Linked DNA regions of Homo sapiens: region 1 is linked to region 2. Evidence: promoter capture Hi-C in human tissues and cell types (Jung and others, 2019). All regions are on one chromosome and are shown on one strand. The core of a region is centred on a gene start or on the middle of the fragment in contact, and the rest is flanking DNA. Distances in the headings are between cores, read along the strand shown.

The links. The method cuts DNA at HindIII sites, captures the fragments that hold promoters and counts their contacts. A contact is called where the count stands out against the background at its distance.
Region 1: a contact is called between a fragment that was not itself captured here and the fragment with the promoter of SSC5D in region 2, in 3 of the 25 tissues and cell types used here (dorsolateral prefrontal cortex, mesenchymal stem cells and spleen).

What each region holds. Positions count from the first base shown.
Region 1 is chr19:55,315,655-55,319,715 of GRCh38, forward strand. It overlaps TMEM150B (transmembrane protein 150B), which reads right to left. Exons shown (of 8, transcript NM_001282011.2): 7 at 1,132-1,312. Among named protein-coding and RNA genes, the nearest start is that of TMEM150B, 7.7 kb to the right of the region's middle. The HindIII fragment of the contact is 7,983 bases long and covers 1-4,061 here.
Region 2 is chr19:55,487,113-55,491,613 of GRCh38, forward strand. SSC5D (scavenger receptor cysteine rich family member with 5 domains) reads left to right here and starts at 1,324. Exons shown (of 14, transcript NM_001144950.2): 1 at 1,324-1,502; 2 at 1,894-1,920; 3 at 2,242-2,550; 4 at 2,770-2,883; 5 at 3,186-3,296; 6 at 3,660-3,968. The coding sequence starts at 1,478. It overlaps NAT14 (N-acetyltransferase 14 (putative)), which reads left to right. Exons shown (of 3, transcript NM_020378.4): 3 at 1-454. The HindIII fragment of the contact is 17,473 bases long and covers 638-4,501 here.

The sequences.
Region 1 (4,061 bases), core at 1,358-3,857, 170 kb before region 2:
GGAGGCTGAGGCAGGAGAATGGCATGAACCTGGGAGGCGGAGCTTACAGTGAGCCAAGATCACGCCACTTCACTCCAGCCTAGGTGACAGAGCGAGACTCCGTCTCAAAAAAAAAAAAAAAAAAATTAGCCAGGTGTGGTTGGCAGGTGCCTGTAGTCCCAGCTACGTGGAAGGCTGAGGCAGGAGAATCGCTTGAACCCGGGAGGCGGAGGTTGCAGTGAGCTGAGATCACGCCACTGCACTCCAGCCTGGGCGACAGAGCAAGACTCTGTCTCAAAAATAAATAAATAAAAATAATCATGATGATAAAAGCAAATCCATTTTATGGATATGGAAACTGAGGCCTCAGAGAGTGACCTGACCCATCTAGAAGTACACTGTGCTGGTGGAAAGTGCCTCGGTTCTGGGGATGGCTCAGAAATGAGTTGGAATTGAGTCAAGCCTCATGTGGTGTGCTAGTAAATGTTTAACAACTGGCTCTGGTTGGTGGCATCTGCCAATTACAGTGGTATAAATACTCCCATGATGGCTATTTCAAGCTACTCACATGATATCACAGGACATGGAGTTCGGACGAGCAGTTCACAGAATGCCTCTCAGAGCCTGCGCAAGCCACCTGCAGCCTATCACCAGCTCCATTGCAGAACCTCACGCGCATCCTGGCCGAAAGACTTTTCCTGTCTGAACCCGTCTTCACTCGTAACCACATGATTCCTGGCACAGAGCAGGTGCCCTCAAGGGACTGTTCTTAGTATATCATTCTTCCAGCGTCTATTGGTCACTCGCTATGTGCCAGGCACAGATCTAAGCACCGTATGCCTATTATCCTATCCACTCCACAACCCTGAGGTCAGCCCTGTCGTTATCCACATTTGAGGGATGACGAAACCATTGACACCGAGAAGTAACAGCCCGCGGAAGTTTCCCCCAGCTGCTGTGTGGAGGACAGGGGCTTCCAACCTGGGCAACCTGACCCCGAAGTCGGCATTCTCGATGACAAAGCCATAATCCTGTGCAAAGAGTGAGGCCCAGAGAAAGGAAGAGACATCCCCAGTGACAGACAGCCAGGCAGGAAGACCAACTCCAGTGAAGAGCCACCTCCAAGCCCTACCCCGGATACAAGAAGGATACTGGCCACAATGAGGATGGTGCAGACGCTGCAGAGGCCCAGGCGGAGGGGCCCAATCCAGGCAGCCCCGGGCTGGGGCAGCCTCTTCAGCCTCCACAGGAGGAGCTGCAGCCAGAAGTAGACGTTACCCAAGATGAAGGCAAGGAAGGCCCCTGCCAAGTGCGTAGGCCGCTGGTTCTTTTCCTGGGAGGAGAAGGGAGAAGTTGGGAGGGAGACTCTGGGAAGGAGGGTAAGGGGCACCAGAGGGGCCAGGGCCCTTCACCAATGCAGTAGACAGTGGTCACCAACTTTCCATACCCAGTGATGGGCTTATTAAGCACATCAGCTATTGTCAGCTCCACGAGAGCAGGCATTGAAATCTGTTGTTCACTGCTGTGGCCTCAATTCCTAGAACAGTGATGGGCACATAGTAGATGCTCAGTAAATATGAGTGGGATAAATCTTGCATTCTCAAGGCGGGGGACAGACATTTCCCCAAAAATTGGTCTTGCAGGTGAAAAATTCTTAAATATTACAATTGTATGTGACTCACGGATACATAGCACATATTCCATTAAAATTTTAAAATACTTAAAATTTTGGCCTGGTGCGGTGGCTCACATCTGTAATCCCAGCTCTTTGGAAGGTGAAGCAGGCAGATCACTTTGAGCTCAGGAGTTCAAGACCCACCTGAGCAACATGGCAAAACCTCGTCTCTACAAAAAATACAAATATTGCCAGGCATAGTGGCTCACACCTGTAATCTCAGCACTTTGGGAGGCCAAGGCGGGTAGATCACTTGAGGTCAGGAGTTCGAGACCAGCCTGGCCAACATGGTGAAACCCTGTCTCTACTAAAAATACAAAAAATTAGCTAGGCGTGGTGGCGGGCACCTGTAATCCCAGCTACTTGGGAGGCTGAGGCAGGAGAATCACTTGAACCCAGGAGGCAGAGGTTGCAGTGAGCCAAGATCGCACCATTGCACTCCAGCCTGGGCAACAAGAGTGAGACTCCATCTCAAGAAAAAAAAAAATACAAATATTAGCCGGTCATGGTGGCTCAGGCCTGTAATCCCAGCTACTCAGGAGGCTGAGGCTGGAGGATTACTTAAGCCCAGGAAGCAGAGGTTGTAGTGAGCTGAGATGGCACCATCGCACACCAGCCTGGGCAACGGAGCAAGATCCCATCTCAAAAATAAATAAACAAATAATAAATAAATAAAATAAATACTTAAAATTTCATGGGAAGAGGGGAGAACCAGGGGGAAATGTCTAAAAATACTCCTTAGAGGAGCAAGATAATAATAATAGGTTGAGGGCTGGGCACAGTGGCTCATGCCTGTAATCCCAACACTTAGGGAGGCCAAGGTAGGCAGATCACTTGAGGTCAGGAGTTTGAGACCAGCGTGGCCAACATGGTGAAACCTTATCTCTACTAAAAATGCAAAAAGTAGCCGGGCGTGGTGGTGAGCGCCTGTAATCCCAGCTACTCTGGAAGCTGAAGTTAGGAGAATCACTTGAGCCCGGGAGATGGAGGTTGCAGTAAGCCAAGATCTCACCACTGCACTCCAGCCTGGGCCACAGAGCAAGACTCTGTCTCAAATAAATAAATAGTTGTGGAGCACTTTGGGAGGCTGAGGTGGGTGGCTCATTTGAGGTCAGGAGTTCAAGACCAGCCTGGCCAATATGGTGAAATCCCATCTCTACTAAAAATACAAAAAAAATTTAGCCAGGCCTGGTGGCAGGTGCCTGTAGTCTCAGCTATTTGGTAGGTTGAGGCAGGAGAATCGCTTGAACCCAGCAGGCGGAGGTTGCGGTGAGCCAAGATCGCACTACTGCACTCCAGCCTGGGTGACAGAGCAAGACTCCATCTCCAATATATGTATATATATAAATATATTCTCTGTGGTCCATGGGCAATGAGTGACCTAGCTAGAGTCTTCATGGAGATGGAATGAAGTCATGTACAAAATGGAAAGCCTGCTGCCAATGGCTGCCAAATGCTCAATCAATGTGCCTAACATGAAGAATGAGTAAATCTCAGTCATTTCTTTTTGGAGACAAGGTCTCACTCTGTTCACCAGGCTGGAGTGCAGTGGCACAATCACAGCTCACTGCAGCCTCGACCTCCTGGGCTCAAGCAATCCTCCATCTTCCCACCTCAGCCTCCTGCATAGCTGGGACTACAGGTTCACGCCACCATGCCTGGCTAATTCTTTATTTTTTGTAGAGACAGAGTCTTGCTATGTTGTCCAGGCTGGTCTTGAACTCCTGGGCTCAAGCCTCAGCCTCCAAAGTCCTGGGATTACAGGCATGAACCACTGTGCCCAGCCTCACTAATTTCTTTTTTCTTTTCTTTTCTTTTTTGAGACTGAGTCTCACTCTTGCAGCCCAGGCTGGAGTGCAATGGCATGGTCTCGGCTCAATGCAACCTCTGCCTCCCGGGTTCAAGCAATTCTCCTGCCTCAGTCTCCTGAGTAGCTGGGCTTACAGGCACCTGCCACCACCCCTAGCTAATTTTTTGTATTTTTAGTAGAGATGGGGTTTTACCGTGTTGGCCAGGCTGGTCTCCAACTCCTGACCTCAGGTGATCCACCTACCTTGGCTTCCCAAAGTGCTGGGATTACAGCCGTGAGCCACAGAGCCCGGCCAGTAATTTCATCTTCTTCTTCTTTTTTTTTTTTTTTTTTTTTTTTTTTTTTGAGAGAAGTCTCACTCTTATCCCCCAGGTTTGAGTGCAATGGCTCGATCTCGGCTCACTGCAACCTCCACCTCCCAGGTTCAAATGATTCTCCTGCCTCTGCCTCCCACGTAGCTGGGATTAAGTCGCCTGCCACCATGCCCGGCTAATTTTTGTATATTTTAGGAGAGACGGGGTTTCACCATGTTGGTTGGCCAGGCTGGTCTCAAACTCCTCACCTCAGGCGATCCGCCTGCCTCCGCCTCCCAAAGTG
Region 2 (4,501 bases), core at 74-2,573:
TCTGTCCACCCGTCAGCAGTGTGAAGTCTGTTGTGTTTGAGCTTCTCAGAGTGGAATGACTCCTTTTCCTTCCTGGCCCTCGGGGGCCTCTCGAGGTCAGCCTCTCCAACCCCTACCTCAGCTCCTGTCTGCACTGAGAAACCTCCCCGGGTGATGTCTGCAAAGTCTGTGCTGTCCGTGCCCCAGGCTGGGAGAGCTATCTGGGGAGGGGGAGAGGAGGCCGAGCAGAATACACCCCAGAGTTAGGGTTTGCGACTCCGCCTCCCTGGGACCTGGATTGGGTCAGATGCCTGTCCTTGGAGGGGACAAGGTTGACTGCTTAGGAGGCGCGACGCACAGGGCTGCCAGGCCTGGCCCCTCTCTGGGAAGGTTGAGAGCTGAGACGGGCAGCCCTGTCCCTTCCTCCAGATCCGTCTGGTTTTTTACACCGTTTGTTAATAAAGCCTGAAACCGCTGTGTGCCTGTCTCTTCTCTGATGGCTTTCCCAGTCTGTCTCCGGACACCCCCGCCCATTTCTGTCTGGCTTCTCCTTTCCCCAGTTAACATTAATTGTTGGGGGACGGTGCTGGACTGGGAGAAGGGGAGGCTGTGAGCTCAGGGGCAGCCCGAGGCCCTGCCAGCCCTTCTGAGTCACGCTCCCCATTACCGAATTTTTTCCGCCTCACAGCTGCCTGGTGTGCAGGCAGTGGGGTGTGTGTGTGTGTGTGTGAGTGTGTGGAAGAGTGTGTGGAGCCCCTCCCCTTCCCAAGCCTTGACCCTTGTGCTGCTTATCCCCCGACCCCAGCTCCCTCTGGGACAGTGAAGTTCAACCTCTCCTCTCTCAGCTGGGGACTGGGGGCTTCACACTCAGATCCACCAGTGAGTGGGAGGACTGGAGGGCCGGGTCTTTCAGTCTCTTTTCCTAACCCAGGAAGTCCCTCCTGGTGTCTGGCTGCAAATCTTCTTGCTGCTGCACCAAGAACCCCAGGTCTGCCCAGCCCCCAACCCTAGCAGTGGTCTCACTGGATTTCCCTGACCAGACAAGAGGGGAGACAGCAGGTGGGCGCCCCTCCCGCTCATGCTGCGCCCCCCCCGCACACGTCCCCCAACCCCTGTCCTGTGCCTTCCTGCAGCCGGCCACCCCCTAAGCATCTCTGGGCACAGCACTTTGCTGGCTGGAGCCTGCCTGGCCGTCGTCTCCATCTCCCGTGTGGGTGTCTGCAGTTGGACACCCTCCCTCCCGCCCGCCACCCCCCTCCCCCCCATGCCTCAGCAGACGGCCAGCCCCCTCCCGCCCCCCCTCCCCCCCACCGTCCCCTGCCGCCTCCCTGCAGCCTCTTTCTTCCTCCTGGCAAAGCGTCCAGCCCTGCCTGCTCCTCCTCGGGCCTGGGCGCCTCCAGCAGGCACTTCCCTCCCTCCCTCTCTCCCCAGCTGCCTCCTCCTCTTCTCTCCCCGCTCTCCTTCCCCTTTCACCCCATCCCCTGCCCTGGCTGCAACCATGAGGGTCTTGGCCTGCCTCCTTGGTGAGTGATCCATTCTCCTTGGGGACTCGGGGGGCCTAGGCCCCCACCTCTGACCCCTTAGCTTGTCCAGTTTAGGGACTCAAACTTCCGGGACTGGTCGCTGGTGCTCCTGCATACCCTGACATCCCTTCTGAGGATCCCTGCTCAATCTGCCCAGCCTTCTGCCAGCCCAGAAGCCCAAGGGACCTGCCCCCTGCCCGCCCCCCAGCCCTGACCCTGCGGGGGATCTCCCAGACATCTGACCTTTAGCCAAGCCCATGTGTGTGTGTGTGTGTGTGTGTGTGTGTGTGTGTGTGTGTGTTGGGGTATTCAAGATGAGGGGCCTGCGCTGGAGAAAGGGCCACCCCCGGCCTGCCCCTCACACTGCCCCACCCTCCGCCCTCCCTTCCAGCGGCCCTGGTGGGGATCCAGGCTGTTGGTAAGTGCCCAGACTCCTCCCATCTGCCCGCCCCCCCCCCCAGGCCTCCCCCTTCTGCCCATCCAGGCCTGGCCTCACCCCCACTGGGTCCCCGGCCCATCCGAATTCCACTGTGACCTTGGCCCCAGCTCCGCAAGGGAATCCCCCAGGTGTCTGGCCGCATCTCTCTGAGCACCCAGGAGTCTGGGCCCAGGGGCCAGTGAGCAGGGCCACTGGCCTACAGACAGTACCTGCAGGACAGCCACCTGCCCCTACAGTTGCCCTGGCCTTGGGGCCCCCAGGATGCCCCTCCCCAGTCACAGCCATTCCTCCAACCCTCAGAGCGCCTGCGCCTGGCCGATGGCCCCCATGGGTGCGCTGGCCGCCTGGAGGTCTGGCATGGCGGGCGCTGGGGCACCGTGTGTGATGACGGCTGGGACCTGCGCGATGCCGCCGTGGCCTGCCGGCAGCTGGGCTGCGGAGGGGCACTGGCCGCCCCGGGAGGCGCCTTCTTCGGGGAGGGGGCAGGGCCTGTGTGGCTCAGCGAGCTGGCTTGCCGGGGCAACGAGGGGCAGCTGGGCCTCTGCCACCACCGGGGCTGGAAGGCCCACATCTGCTCCCACGAGGAGGACGCGGGCGTCGTCTGCGCAGGTGAGGACACCCTGGCTGCTCCTTCAGGGGGAGCTCCTTTGGAGATGACCCAGGAACCCCAAGTCCTTAGCCCCAGCAAGTCTGAGTGTTCAGCAGTTCAGAGACACCCAACCTCCCATCCCCTCCAAAGCCAGGTGGCTAACTCCCTCTTCCAGGGACCCAAATGGCCTGGATTCCCCTCCTCTCCTCATAGCTTCTGTCCCTGCCCCCCCGCCGCAGGTCAGCGTGTGGCTAACTCCAGGGACGACTCAACATCTCCCCTGGATGGGGCTCCCTGGCCAGGGCTGTTGCTGGAGCTGAGCCCCAGCACGGAGGAGCCCCTGGTGACACATGGTGAGCCCAGGGGACTGCCCTGCCAACCCCCACCCAGCGTGCCCTCCTGCCCCCCCCGAGGGGAGAGGGACTGCCCTGCCAACCCCCACCCAGCGTGCCCTCCTGCCCCCACCGAGGGGAGAGGGACCTCTGCAGTATGAACTCCCAGGGGACACACAGCCCGCCCCCTGCCCCGCCCCGTCTCCTTCATAGCCTAGGGAGTCCTCCATCACTTCAGACCCTCAGAGACGGAGGCCTGGGCCCCCAGGTGGGAGGAAGGATGAGGGGCTCAGCTCCTGACCCCTGGCTGTCTCCACTCCCAGCCCCCCGCCCAGCTGGGAACCCCCAGAACGCCTCCCGGAAGAAGAGCCCCCGGCCCAAGCAGGCCAAGTCCACCCGGGCCCCTCTGCTGACGACAGGAGCCCCCCGCCAAGGTAAGCTCCCTGCAGGCTCCCCCGACCCCAAGGCTGGTTGCTGTGAGGCCCAGGGCCCAGAAAAACTGAGGACCTGCGGGCGCCCTCTCCTTAGCCGGGGCCCTGGAGGGATCCCAGTGTTCCCCGCGTCCCTCCCCCGGGGATTTAGACGGCCAGGCCTGGTCTCCCCTCTTCTTCCTGCCCTGTCAGGAGGCCCAGGTGTCCTGGCCCGCTCAGGTCGTGGACTCACCTCTTCACGGGCTGCCGGCGGACAGATCTCAGGCCACCGCTCCCTCAGGCCTGTTTCCCCAGGTGGAAATCGAGGAAGGGGTGTTTGAATCATTTCTCACTGGCCACACCGTCCCCTCCCTGCTCACCCCACAGAGCGGCTGCGCCTGGTCTCTGGCCCCCACAGGTGCGCCGGACGCCTGGAGGTCTGGCACGGCGGGCGCTGGGGCACCGTATGTGACGATGGCTGGGACCTGCGCGACGCTGCTGTAGCCTGCCGGGAACTGGGCTGTGGGGGGGCGCTGGCTGCCCCCGGCGGTGCCAGATTCGGGCCTGGTGCAGGGCCCGTGTGGATGGACGATGTGGGGTGTGGAGGAGGAGAACAGGCCCTCCGAGACTGCCCCCGAAGCCCCTGGGGCCGGAGCAACTGTGACCACAGCGAGGATGCGGGGCTGGTCTGCACCGGTACGTCGGGCTGGGGCCTGGCCCCCTCCTGTCTTCCTCAGACCCCAGCTCCCTCTTGCCCCTCCAGGAAGCTGCAGCGGGCCTGCTCCCAGCTCTGCCTCCTGCCCGCCTGCTCTCTGCATGCCCAGCGCCCACTCACCACGCTCTCCAGCCCCTCCTTCCACAGCTCCTGCCGTTCTCCTTGCCAGGAATGGGAGGAGCAGGCTTGAGGCTTGGGCTAGTGCTCAGCCCTGTCCCGGGGCCTAGGCCAGTGACCGTTTGTTTAAGCCTCAGTTTTCCTGAAGGAGCGATGGAGCTAAGAATGCCTGCCTCAGGCTTGAGCCAAGTCCTGGAACGCAAGAAGCCCTGCCTGCCCTCTGCCACCGGGCTGGCCATGGCAGGGGACCGTCTCGGAGACCTCTTGTCTCTGTGGCCAACCTCTGCTCCTTCCCCATCCTCAAGGGAGCTGGTGGGAAGGAGGGAGGGAGGGCGGTGACTTGGGGGCATGGAGGGAGACTGAGGCAGGGTGGGGACACCCACGGGTGAGCCTCCAT